Regions from separate parts of the Homo sapiens genome. Here region 1 is linked to region 2. The links are contacts of gene promoters, found by promoter capture Hi-C in human tissues and cell types (Jung and others, 2019). All regions are on one chromosome and are shown on one strand. The core of a region is centred on a gene start or on the middle of the fragment in contact, and the rest is flanking DNA. Distances in the headings are between cores, read along the strand shown.

What was found. The method cuts DNA at HindIII sites, captures the fragments that hold promoters and counts their contacts. A contact is called where the count stands out against the background at its distance.
Region 1: a contact is called between a fragment that was not itself captured here and the fragment with the promoter of FOXK2 in region 2, in 1 of the 25 tissues and cell types used here (spleen).

Annotation. Positions count from the first base shown.
Region 1 is chr17:82,480,159-82,486,939 of GRCh38, forward strand. NARF (nuclear prelamin A recognition factor) reads left to right here. Exons shown (of 11, transcript NM_012336.4): 7 at 924-1,053; 8 at 3,558-3,621; 9 at 4,655-4,792; 10 at 5,339-5,496. Among named protein-coding and RNA genes, the nearest start is that of TRX-CAT1-8, 11 kb to the right of the region's middle. The HindIII fragment of the contact is 4,020 bases long and covers 1-3,688 here.
Region 2 is chr17:82,515,669-82,522,656 of GRCh38, forward strand. FOXK2 (forkhead box K2) reads left to right here and starts at 4,064. Exons shown (of 9, transcript NM_004514.4): 1 at 4,064-4,639. The coding sequence starts at 4,221. RefSeq lists silencers at 3,484-4,143, 4,594-4,773, 4,854-4,903. The HindIII fragment of the contact is 19,651 bases long and covers 1-6,988 here.

The sequences.
Region 1 (6,781 bases), core at 429-2,928, 38 kb before region 2:
CTCCTGGCTTTGCCACCAGTTCAGGCCCAGCCACAGGCACCTGCTCTGTGTGGACCCAGGAGAGGGGTAGCTTGGGTGGGCATCGCTTGGGAAGATTCAGGAAAGTCTGTGGGTGAAGTAGCCAGCGCGCGCACACACACACACACACACACACTCACTCAGGCCTCCTGCAATGGCTCCATGCTGGACCAGCAACAGCTCCACGCCGGCTGGACTTCCTCTTACTTGTTTTGTCCCCATGTGCACAGGTTCAGGAGGAAATGGGCTCAGCCTTCCCGGTTCTTCCAGGAGGCTCCACTGGCTGGGGGGCTTTGCAGATGTTTGGGAGGACCACACCCAGTCCTGAGGGAGGCAGCAGACAGACATGGATGGAGTGCTGGTGCTCGGTAGAGTTGAAGAGGGGATGGGAGCCAGATGTGGCTACAGCACTTTCATCTGTGGGGCCCGGCCTCAGACCCACAACAGTCCCAGCCCCAAGAAAGTGCTGCATGCAGCCAGGCTCGATGGCTCACGCCTGTAATTCTAGTACTTTGGAGGCCGAGGCGGGCAGATTGCCTGAGCTCAGGAGTTTGAGACCAGCCTGGGCAACACGGTGAAACCCCATCTCTACTAAAGTACAAAAAATTAGCCAGGCGTGGCGGCATGCGCCTGTAGTCCCAGCTACTCGGGAGGCTGAGGCAGGAGAATCGCTTGAACCCGGGAGGCAGAGTTTGCAGTGAGCTGAGATCACGCCACTGCACTCCAACCTGGTGACAGAGCAAGACTCCATTTCAAAAAAAAAAAAAAAAAAAGAGTGCAGCATGCAGTGTCTGGAGGGCAGCAGCAGGGGGCATTCGGTCTCCCATCCCTCTTGTTCTGGGCACCAAGCGTAAGCTGCCGTCACCTCTTCACCAGCCCTAAATATGGGTGCCCCTCTCCCACAGAACCTGTCTCCAGAGAAGATTTTCCACGTCATTGTGGCCCCTTGTTATGACAAGAAGCTGGAGGCTCTTCAGGAAAGCCTTCCCCCTGCTTTGCATGGCTCCCGGGGCGCTGACTGCGTGTTAACATCAGGTGAGAGGTGGGCGGGGGTGCACCTGGGCGCTGGGGTAATCTCCTACTGGCCAGTACACACCAGAGCCAGGCAGATCTGTGTCCCAGAGCCATCTCAGTGCCTGCCAATGTGGTCGCTTGTCTGAAGTTACTGACAGCTGAGGGTCCTAGGGGCTTAACTGCAGGTGAAGAGAAGGGTCATGTTCGATCTAGCCTCCTGTCTCCTCTGTGCATCTTCCTCAAGATAAATCAGGTCTCAGCTGGGCACAGTGGCTCACGCCTGTAATCTAAGCACTGGGAGGCCAAGGCAGGTGGATCACCTGAGGTCAGGAGTTCGAGACCAGCCTGACCAACATGGAGAAACCCCGTCTCTACTAAAACTACAAAAAACTAGCCGGGCATGGTGGCACATGCCTGTAATCCCAGCTGCTCGGGAGGCTGAGGCAGGAGAATCGCTTGAACCCGGGAGGCAGAGGTTGCAGTAAGCCGAGATCGCGCCATTACCCTCCAGCCTGGGCAACAAGAGTAAAACTTTGTCTCAAAAAAAAAAAAAAAAGATAAATCAGGTCCTGGGAGAACCACTTGGGCAGTGTGGTGGCCCTAACTTTACATTACAGTCCATGTAAGGTACTTATCTCTTGGTGGGAAAGTTGTCTATAGCCATAGCGGGTCTCCTAATCACAAACCAAGTCTGCACTTAAAACACAAGTGAAGTTTTTTTCATTCAGAATAAAATGAAAAAGGCACGTTTGCTCCAGTGATATTGCCTTTACCACGGTATTGGCCACTCCTTTCAGATGTTAAGAGCCTACAGTGAGTTCTGTGTGTGTTGTGGATGGAAGTGATTCCCTGGAATTATGTAGAACCCATTCAGAAGAATGTTGACATCAGTTGGTGGGGGAAGCTTAAGACTTTGTTAAAATTCTGGCGGAACTGTTTTAATTGGTCTCTGAAAACAGGTCCCTGCAGGTATTTAGATCAGTGGTAGATGAGGCAGAGAGGTCAGCTCTCAGGGACAATCTTTAAGGGCGCCAATGTCCCTCACAGGCCCCTGACTTGAAATTCTAGCACGCAGACGCCTCTGGAAAGGTCCCCACCCCATAGGCACAGGCTCCCTGTGGGGTGATGTGGCAGGGGTGTTGAAGGATGAGGGATAGAAGGGTCCTCAGCACGGCCATCCTTCACTCTCAGAGGAAGGGCCCAGGGGCCATCTGCTTACGTTGACAAAATAAAACATGCGCGGTGGGCTGTCAGAAGAACCATGTCCAGCCATCTTTTTTCTGAGTGCAGATTTATAGGAAATTACGCTATTTTCTTACCTGTGTTTCCAGCCATCTCACAGCATCTAATGTGATGCCACAGCCATAGTTTTAGAGGCTCAGTTTTTCTATTAAGGGTTTTTTCAGGCATCCTCATGTAAAAGGAAATACAGAAAGTGGTTCTCACTTTCAGTTGATCTCATTGCAGAATAAACAATTGTCATATAAATGTAGCTGGGTACAATGGCTCAGACCTCTAATTCCAGCCACTCAGGAGGCTATGGCTGGAGGATCACTTGAGCCCAGGAGTTTGAGACCTTGCTGGGCAACACAGTGAGACCTCGTCTCTTTTTTTTTATTTTTTGAGACGGAGTCTCACTCTGTCACCCAGGCTCTGCAGTGGCTCCATCTTGGCTCACTACAACCTCCGCGCCTCCTAGGATCAAGCGATTCTCCTCCCTCAGCCTCCCGAGTAGCTGGGATTACAGGTGCGCCCCACCACACCAGGCTAATTTTTGTGTTTTTAGTAGAGAGGGGGTTTCGCCATGTTGGCTAGACTGGCGACCTTGTTTCTTAAAAAAAAAAGGGCTGGGTGCAGTGGCTGACACGTGTAATCCCAGCACTTCAGGAGGCTGAGGCAGGCTGGTCACCTGAGGTCAGGAGTTCGAGACCAGTCTGGCCAACATGGTGAAACCCCCGTCTCTACTAAAAATACAAAAATTAGCCAGGCGTGGTAGTGCACACCTGTAATCACAGCTACTCAGGAGGCTGCGGCAAGAGAATCACTTGAACCCGGGAGGCAGAGGTTACAGCGAGACAAGATTGCACCACTGGACTCCAGCCTGGGCGGCGGAGGTGAGACTCCATCTCAAAAAAAAAAAAATGCAACCAGTGTATATTTCATCATCCTATCTCTGTGAGCTTGTTATACACAAAAGTTTTCTGTTTGTTTCATGCAAAGTAGGCCAAAAAAGTTTACAGATTTTCCACATGGGAAAATCATGGAGAGATTGTTTACATAAATCCCACAGTTCAAGGGCAGAAAGAGGAATGGAAAGAGGAGTTAGAATTGAATTCTGCTTACGTTTTATTAGTGTTTCATTTTATTGGCCTCACTTTGCCCTTTAGATGGACTCCTGCTGTGTGTGATGGAGATTTCATAAGAGGGAGGTCACCCAGGGTCACTAATGTCAAATCTCCTGCAGGGGAAGAAAAGTTCCTGTGGCCACCTGTGTCTTTTCAGTGTCTTACTTCGTTTGTCTGCAGGTGAAATTGCTCAAATAATGGAGCAAGGTGACCTCTCAGTGAGAGATGCTGCCGTCGACACTCTGTAAGTGGCTTCTCTGGGGAGAGTCCTCTGGGGGGCAGGACCTCTCGTCAGCCCTGCCAGCCACCTGCCAGGCCCAGGGCTGCCCTGCTTTATGACGAGGCCATGTGAAGCACTGCGATGCAGTCCCCCAGGCCCCTGCCACAACCCTCAGCCACCCTATAGCTGTTGAATGGGATACCATTCACCAGGGCTGCCAGGGAGTTGAAGGTTTGGCGGGCTTCCATGGTGTGATTGCCACCCTAAACCCTTGAGGAAGGACAAAATGCACAAACAGCTTTGTCCTCGCTGGCGCAGGGCTGTTCATGTGTGCACCAGCCCCCTTCTTCCTGAGTGCCGTCTGTGCCTCACATTCCGTGTGGTCTATGGGGCAGTGGGGCAGCTCCCTCAGGCCCCTTTGCACCAAGAGTGGCAGTCTGGGTTCTGCTGGGGGCGGTGACCTCGATACCCAGCAAGGCCCAGGGCTCCTGCTGCACCCCAGGCACTGGGCAGAGAGCACCACAAAGGCAGCAGCGTGTGTCCTCGCCAACAGTCCGCATCCCAGGTGCTGCATTCGTGCCCTTTTGGGGGAAGGTAAGATAGAAGTTTACAGAATTTAAGCATCTGTGGGGCCAGGCGTGGTGGCTCACACCTATAATCACAGTACTTTGGGAGGCTGAGGTAGGAGGATCACTTGAGTCCAGGAGGCTGGGGCTGTAGTGAGCTATGATTGTGCCACTGCACTCCAGCCTGAGAGACAGAACAAGACCCTGTCTCCAAAAGAAAAAGACCATAAGCATCTGGAGCACCTGCAAGAGCCTGTGCATGGGCTCGGCGTGACTGAGAGTCCTCCGCCTTGCCCGAGCATCAGGCAGGCCCTCCCAAGACCCCTCAAGATGCTAGAATGGGACTTTCTGCAAAGTTTAAACATCTGTACAGGATTTAGCTTCTTTGGTGGCGAACTTGGATTGTGATGCCCTCAGGAAGTCTGGTTTCACTCTTTCTGTCACTGTACGTCAGCATTCATGAAGGACTTGTATTTTCTCTGCCTTGTGAGGTTTGGAGACTTGAAGGAGGACAAAGTGACGCGTCATGATGGAGCCAGCTCAGACGGGCACCTGGCACACATCTTCAGACATGCGGCCAAGGAGCTGTTCAACGAGGATGTGGAGGAGGTCACTTACCGAGCCCTGAGGTGTGGGGCAGTATCCACAGCCTGTCTGTGCCTGTGGTTAGCACGTGTGCATGGTGTGCCTGTATGGATCTGTGCATGTGGCGGTTCTATGGATGGAGTTTACACTAGTCAAAATCAAAAGGACTTTTTTGTGTTTATTCAGACCTTTTATTTTGCTGACATTCCAAACTTACATTAGAAAGTGTTCTTGGCCGGGTGCGGTGGCTCGTGCCTGTAATCCCAGCACTCTGGGAGGCCGAGGCGGGCGGATCATGAGGTCAGGAGATCGAGACCATCCTGGCTAACACAGTGAAACCCTATCTCTACTAAAAATACAAAAAATTTGCCGAGTGTGGTGGTGAGCGCCTATAGTCCCAGCTACTCGGGAAGCTGAGGCAGGAGAATGGCGTGAACCCGGGAGGCAGAGGTTGCAGTGAGCCAAGATGGTGCCACTGCACTCCAGCCTGGGCAACAGAGCAAGACTCCGTCTCAAAAAAAAAAAGGAAGTGTTCTTAAGTCACAGATAAAGGACTTGATGGATCAAAATTCTCTGTGTTCATTTTGTAGAAACAAAGACTTCCAAGAGGTCACCCTTGAGAAGAACGGAGAGGTGGTGTTACGCTTTGCTGCAGCCTATGGCTTTCGAAACATCCAGAACATGATCCTGAAGCTTAAGAAGGGCAAGTTCCCATTCCACTTTGTGGAGGTCCTCGCCTGTGCTGGAGGTGAGGCGCCAAGAGCAGCACCTGGCTCTGTCTCCCACGGGTGCTCAGGCCACACTGGTCCTGCAGCTGCCAGAGAGATGGTGCTCTTGGCCACCCAGAGCCTCTCTCAGCCCTGAGAGCTTTGTAGGGTATGGATGCTCCCGTGGGGCTTGTGCTGGGACATTCTAGGCTCCATTGGTTTTGCTCTTTTCCTCACCCCATGTAGCATGTGGGCATTCTCTTGGGGACGTGCCCTCAGGAGGCCCAACATGGCACCAGGTGAGAGTCAGCCCGTGGCGGCTGGCTTAGAGAACAAATCACAAGAGTTGAGGCTGCCCTGCCTAGGAGAAACACCCCTGCCCCGTGCCAGGCACCAAGCATGAGCCTTCTCTGTCCTGAGTGATGGGAGAGAGCAGTGAGAGGTGGAAGCGGGAAGGGGTGTGACCCAGCCTGGGCCTGAGGGGCTCCCTTGTTGCGTGGAGGGAGGGTGGGCCACTGTGGGCTGTGATCATCCAGGCAAGTGAGGAAGGATCCCCACCTGGGGCAGGGGGAGTGAGAGGATGAGAGGAGGCCAGGACACGGTGGGGGTCTCCGGGAAGGACTTGCTGAGGGTGTGTCAGGGAAGAAGGGGACCCTCTGCCCCTGACCCATGGTGGTCCATCTGCGCCCCTGGTGGGGAACTGAGGACCTTTGTGCCATTGTGAGTCGGGGGGGGCACCACGAGGGACTCGAGTGGAAATGCCGGGTGCAGGTCAGTTGGAGGAGCGGCTCCACTGATGTTAGACAAGTGGGACAAGGTGTGAAGCCACAGGATGGGAGGGGCCCTTGGGCAGGGCACAGACAAGGGTGTGTCCTTCAACACAAAGGATCTCGTAGAGGAGGGGAGGCCTCAGCCAGCACTGACAAGAGGAGGGTGAGGGCAGAGAGGGGAGCCTGTGGCCTTGGAGGCCTCACTGAGCATTCCAGGGGCACGGAAGGGTCAGTCCCACAGCTGGGCTGAGGAGCAGCCGGGAGGTGGGCCGTGAAGCAGGGCCTCTGGGAGGGCCTCTGTGTGCAAGCGGGTGGAGCTGGGGCCTGAGGAAGGAGAAGGTGCAAGCCCAGCCCCCTGGGAAAGTGGAGGTTGGAGACCAGCTGGGGTGCCACCCTGGAACCCATGGGGAGTGAGGTTTAACCAGGGAAATTTGCTCCAGATTGTTTTAAATGAACTCTTACACTACTAAGAGTGACATCATCTAACACGTTGGAGAGTAAGTAGCATTAATAGATAGGAGACACATTTTTACTCAGGCCAGTGTTGGGTGTGTGG
Region 2 (6,988 bases), core at 2,814-5,313:
TCTCAGCTCACTGCAAGCTCCGCCTCCCAGGTTCACGCCATTCTCCTGCCTCAGCCTCCCAAGTAGCTGGGACTACAGGCACCTGCCACCACACCCGGCTAATTTTTTGTATTTTTAAAAGAGACAAGGTTTCACCGTGTTAGCCAGGATGACCTCGATCTCCTGACCTCATGATCCGCCCGCCTCGGCCTCCCAAAGTGCTGGGATTACAGGCGTGAACCACTGTGCCCGGCCAATTTTTGTATTTTTAGTGGAGATGGGGTTTCACCATATTGGCCAGGATGGTCTCCATCTATTGACCTTGTGATCTGCCCACCTGGGCCTCCCACAGTGCTGGGATTACAGGTGTGAGCCACCATGCCTGGCCTGCCCATCTTTTTTTGTTGTTCTTTTTTTCTTTTCTTTTTTTTTTGAGACAAAGTCTCACTCTGTCACCCAGGCTGGAGTGCGGTGGCACGATCTTGGCTCACCGCAACCACCGCCTCCTAGTTAAAGCAATTCTCCTGCCTCAGCCTCCTGAGTAGCTGGGATTACAAGCATGCGCCACCACGCCCAGCTGATTTTTTGTATTTTTAGTAGAGACAGGGTTTCACCATGTTGGGCAGGCTGGTCTTGAATTCCTGACCTTTAGTGATCCGCCTGCCTCGGCCTCCCAAAAGTGCTGAGATTACATGTGTGAGCCACCACACCCGGCCTGTTTTTTTTTTTTTTTTTTGGTTAAATGATACACTTCCTATTTATCATTTCCATAGTCATCTCAATGTCCCCTAAAATCCCTCTAATATGGCCGGGCACGGTGGCTTACACCTGTAATCCTGGCACTTTGGGAGGCCAAGGCGGGCGGATCACTGGAGGTCAGGAGTTCGAGACCAGCCTGGCCAATATGGTGAAAACCCGTCTCTACTAAAAATATAAAAATTAGCTGGGTGTGGTGGCACACGCCTGTAATCCCAGCTACTCGGGAGGCTGAGGCAGGAGAATCGCTTGAACCCAGGAGGCGGAGGTTACAGTGAGTAGAGATTGGGCCACCGCACTCCAGCCTGGGCAACAGGGTGAGACTGTCTCAAAAAAAAAAAAAAAAGGAAAAGAAAAAAAAATTCCTCTAATATATAAGTGAATATTTAATGAAACAATTTTTTCTGTCTAGGAAATCCTGCCAGAACACTTTGCACCTGTAGGAATTTGTACTATAATTACAAACACATATATGGCAATTAAGACATGTAAATGTAGGTCGGGCATGGTGGCTCACGCCTGTAATCCCAGCACTTTGGGAGGCCCAGGCAAGTGGATCACGAGGTCAATAGATCGAGACAATCCTGGCCAACAGGGTGAAACCTCGTCTACTAAAAATACAAAATTAGCCAGGCGTGGTGGTGAGCACCTGTAATCCCAGCTACTTGGGAGGCTGAGGCAGGAGAATCACTTGAACCTGGGAGGTGGAGGTTGCAGTGAGCCAAGATCGCACCATTGCACTCCAGCCTGGGCAACAAGGGCAAAACTCCACTCAAAAAAAAAAAAAAAAAAAAAAAAGACATGTAAATGTTACATTCAGAGGGACACATTAATTTCCATTTCTTTTAGAAAAAGTTTTTACACATTGAAGGAATAAAAATGCATGAACTGACCCTGATGTCTCCTGCCTGGGGCCCCCAGTTGGTGGTTCCTGTTCAGGATCTCCACTTTATCCTGCTCCGTTTAAGTCCAGTCTCAAGTCTTTCTACTCACACTAAACTCCTTTTGTACCTACATTATGATGATGATGATTATTTTCGAGACAGAGTCTGGCTTTGTCACCCAGGCTGGAATGCAGTGGTGCAATCTCCGCTTGCTTACTGCAATTTCCGCCTCCCGCGTTTAAGCGATTCTCCTGCCTCAGCCTCTCAAGTAGCTGGGATTATAGGCACGTGCCACCACACCCAGCTAATATTTGTATTTTTAGTAGATATGTGGATTCACCATGTTGGCCAGGCTGGTCTCCAACTTCTAACCTCAAGTGATCCACCCACCTCGGCCTCCCAAAGTGTTGGGATTCAGTCATGAGCCACCGTGCCAGGCCTCTGTACCTAAATTATATCATTTCTCTCTTCTAATTGTTCTTTGCTATTTAACAAGCAGCAAATAGAGGAACCCTGGGGTGTTTGCTATAACCTGTATATATAGGCTATAATAGGATCTTCTCCTCACACACCCTGCAGGAACCACCATGCTGAAAGAAGTGAGACAATTCAGGGGGCAGTCCCTCCCCAGCAGAGACTAAATTGGTACCATTTGTTGCTATTTCAGTTTTGCGAAGATGCGCGCTTGGAGCCCAAGCCATGGTTTCTAGGGCTGACACTGACTTCCCACGGAATTCTTCCTGTTTAAGAGGTTGTAGACTTTTCATGATCCTGAACCTTGAACGTCTCCACAACTGGTTAAGTACCCGTGAGATACATTTACAGGATTTTTTCTTTCTTTTCCCAATTTTTTTTTTTTTTTTTTTTTTTGAGACGGAGTCTCCTCTGTCACCCAGGCTGGAGGGCAGTGGCGTGATGTCTGCTCACCACAACCTCCGCCTCCCAGGTTCGAGCGATTCTACTGCCTCAGCCTCCCAAGTAGCTGGGACTGCAGGCACGCCCCACCATGCCTGGCTAATTTTTGTATTTTTAGTAGAGACGGGCTTTTACTATGTTGGGCAGGCTGGTCTTGAACTCCTGACCTTGTGATCCACCCGCCTCGGCTTCCCAAAGCACTGGGATTACAGGTGTGAGCCACCGCGCCCGGCCACAGGATTTTTTCTTTTTAATGTTAGGAGTTTCATTGATTAGTGAACATCTGGACTATTGATCATCTTGATTTAGATGGGATCTTGTAATTTTTTAAACGGTGGCGAAATTCTTTTTTTAAAAACTTAGTATCAGATTGGTTAAGATATTAACTATTCGTTCATGAGAGTTCATATATATATAGTTCATATATATATAGTTCATATATGTATATAGTTCATATATATAGTTCATATATATATAGTTCATATATATATAGTTCATATATATATATATAGTTCACATATATATAGTTCATATATATACATATGAGACGTAGTTTCACTCTTGTTGCCCAGACTGAAGTGCAGTGACGCGATCTCGGCTTACTGCAACCTCCACCTCCCAGGTTGAAGCAATTCTCCTGCCTCCGCCTCCCAGGTTTAAGCAATTCTCCTGCCTCAGCCTCCTGAGTAGCTAGGACTACAGGTGTGCACCACCACACCCGGCTATTTTTTTTTTTTTTTTTGTATTTTTAGTAGAGCTGGGATTTCACCATGTTGGCTAGGCTGGTCTCGAACTCCTGACCTCAGGTGATCCGCTCGCCTCGGCCTCCCAAAGTGCTGGGCTTACAGGCGTGAGCCACCGCGCCCGGCCTCGTGTATATTTTTAAACTGTGTGCTGACGACAGTTAAGTAAATGTGATTCAGAACTTCTGCGTATTTTGCAGGACAGTTTTGACACAATGACATGACTCGCTAGCCAGGAAAGATAACGACATCCAGTCCTGGAGCTGCTGGTTAAAAACGAACGTGTCACCGGGTCCCCTGGGTCTGAGGCCACGCGGCACGCGGCCCCTCCGCGATATTCCCGCACCTCGCGGGGAAAAGGCCGCTCGGCGGCCGGGCCTGGGCTCGCGGGCCGCCGCCTATCCGCACCCCGGCGTCCACGCCGGGTTGGGGGCCGCTGCGTGCCTGGCGCCCGCTGTGACCTTGGGCCTGGTCCCGCCCGCCGCGCCTAAGGCGCTGCCAGGCCGGGCTCAGACCCCCGAGCTCCCGCGCCCGCGCCAACCCCGCGCCAGCCCCGATCCCGCGCGGGCTGCCGACTGTCCGCCCCGGGTTTTCCGCGGCGCCCGGAGTCGGGACTGCGTCGGGCGTCGCCGCCGGACGTGCCGGCAGCTTGGTGCGACGTGTCTTGCCATTGGCCTGCTTCGGTAGCCCCACTGCCGTACGCCGCCCCCATTGGCCGGCGTAACCGTCCGTCAGCGAGGGGCGGGCCCGGCGTGCCGGCTCGGTGGCGCGGCCGCGCGTGCTCCCGCCCCTCGCCGCCGCTCGCTCGCTCGCCGGCCGGCGGCCTCCGCTCGGCCCCCTCCCTCAGCTCCGGTGCGCGGCGGCCGACGACCCGCGCGGCCTGGGCCTCGGCCCGCGCCACCGGCGCCCGCGCGGAGCGGCCCGGGGGCCCTCACGCAGGCCCATGGCGGCGGCCGCGGCGGCGCTCTCGGGCGCGGGCACGCCACCCGCGGGCGGCGGGGCCGGGGGCGGCGGGGCCGGGGGCGGCGGGTCCCCGCCGGGCGGCTGGGCCGTGGCGCGCCTGGAGGGCCGCGAGTTCGAGTATCTGATGAAGAAGCGCTCGGTGACCATCGGCCGCAACTCGTCGCAGGGCTCGGTGGACGTGAGCATGGGCCACTCGAGCTTCATCTCCCGGCGCCACCTCGAGATCTTCACGCCCCCGGGCGGCGGCGGCCATGGCGGGGCCGCTCCGGAGCTGCCGCCCGCGCAGCCCAGGCCCGACGCCGGCGGCGACTTCTACCTGCGCTGCTTGGGCAAGAACGGGGTATTCGTGGACGGCGTGTTCCAGAGGCGCGGGGCGCCGCCGCTGCAGCTGCCGCGCGTGTGAGTGGCCTCGGGGCGGGGCGGGCGGGGTCTGCGGCCTGCAGCGCCTGGCAGGACGGGACGGGACACGCGCCCAGGCCCGGGACCACCCACGAGCGGGGGCCCGACTCTCCCACAGCCGGGACCACCAGCGGGACCCAGGCCCCGGCTGGATCCCAACCCTCGACAGCCCCTGGCCCCGACCCCCGTCCTCCCGGTCCCCTTCCTGGCAGGTGCAGCCCCCCGTCTTTCCCCCTTCCTGGAGCCGGGGCTGCGGGCGGCTGCGCGCGCGGGTCAAGGTTTCTGGGTTCTGTGCGTGCGGGGAGTTCACGTGTGCTGTTTCTATTCTGCAGCGAGGTCGCGCTGAACAGAAATGTGAAAACGGTGTGCGGTGGGAGGAACTGCCCCGAACTAAAATCTATGTCTCTTAACCGATGAAGGGTTGTCTGTTGTCTTTTGTTGTTGTTGTTGTTCAGTCGTTTTCAGTAGTGAGCTGTTTCAAGAGTGCGGTGTTTTAAGCAGGAAGGACTCCTTTTTCCCTGCCGTGTTTTCAGTAGGCCAAATTGGAAGACGCTTCAAGCATGATGGATTTTCAATCTGTGCTCTGAACCTTAAAATTTAGGGAAAACTAGATGCTTTTCGCATAACTTCTACAAAAAGACAGTTGATTAGGAATTATTACAAGGTCATGTAGAGTGTTAAGTCAGCCTGATAGGGAACTGCCTATCCTGCTACAAAACAATTTAGCTTGGTCCTGTGGTTTTATGAAGTTATCGTTTACTCTGCTTGAAACACAAACTTGCTGTCTAGGAAATGCTAATTATTCCTCAGGGGCTCACTTCTAGATCATTGCAAGTACAGCCTTTGTCCACACAAACTGGAATTTTTTTGTTTTTTGTTTTTTGAGACGGAGGCTCACTTTGTCGCTCAGGCTGGAGTGTAGTGGCGCGATCTTGGCTCACTGCAATCTCCGCCCTTTGAGTTCAAGTGGTTCTCCTGCCCCAGCCTCCCGAGTAGCTGGGATTACAGGCGCCTGCCACCGCGCCCGGCTAATTTTTTGTATTTTTAGTAGAGACGGGGTTTCACCATCTTGGCCAGGCTGGTATTGAACTCCTGACCTCGTGATCCACCCGCCTCGGCCTCCCAAAGTGCTGGGATTACAGGCGTGAGCCACCGCGCCCGGCCTACAAATTGGAATTTTTAACGCTTTCGGTTGTTGGAGATGCTGGTAAGAGCTGTTGCTTTTCTTCTTGACTTGCGTGTTGTGTGTGTGTGCATGCGCTGTTCTGTTTCTTAGCATGGAAAGGTGCACCAGCATATTCCTTAAACTTTGGTAGTAGCATTTTAAAGAATGTTATTTTCAGGCCGGGCGCGGTGGCTCACGCCTGTAATCCCAGCACTTTGGGAGGCCGAGGCGGGTGGATCACGAGGTCAGGAGGTCGAGACCATTCTGGCTAACACGGTGAAACCCGTCTCTACTAAAAATACAAAAAAAAAAAAAAAATTAGCCGGGCGCGGTGGCGGGCGCCTGTAGTCCCAGCTACTCAGGAGGCTGAGGCAGGAGAATGTGAACCCTGGAGGTGGAGCTTGCAGCCAGCGAGATCGCACCACTGCACTCCAGCCTGGGGGACAGAGGAAGACTCCGCCTCAAAAAAAAAAAAGAAATTTTCAAATGAAAATGCTATTTATGTGTGTTTATACTGTAGACGGTATGAAATCAATGGTAGGGTCCTAATGGCTACCCTTTAATCTGACTTTTTTTTTTTTTTTTTTTTTTTTACAAAATACTGTGTCACAACAAAGGAAGTTTGCGTCTACTGTGAGGATCTTGAGTTTTTGTTTGTTTGTTTTTGATTTTGAGACACGGTCTCTGTGACCTAGCCTGGAGTGTACTGGTATGATGACAGCTCACTGCAGCCTCAAACTTCTGGGCACAAGCGATCCTCCTGCCCCAGTGCTCAGGAGTTTGAAGTTGCTGTGAGCTATGATTGCACCACTGCATTCCAGGCTGGGATTACAGGTGTGAGCTATGATCTCACCACTCCTCCCACATACCTGGCCAAGATTTTGAGTTTTTTGGAATTTTTTTTTTTTTTTCCTGAGACGGAGCCTTGCTCTGTCCCCCAGGCTGGAGTGCAGTGGCGCAATCTCGGCTCACTGCAAGCTATGCCTCCCGGGTTCACATCATTCTCCTGCCTCAGCCTCCCGAGTAGCTGAGACTACAGGCACCCGCCACTACGCCCAGCTAATTTTTTTTTGTATTTTTAGTAGAGACGGGGTTTCACCATGCTAGCCAGGATGGTCTCGATCTCCTGACCTCATGATCTGCCCGCCTCGGCCTCCCAAAGTGCTGCGATTACAGGCATGAGC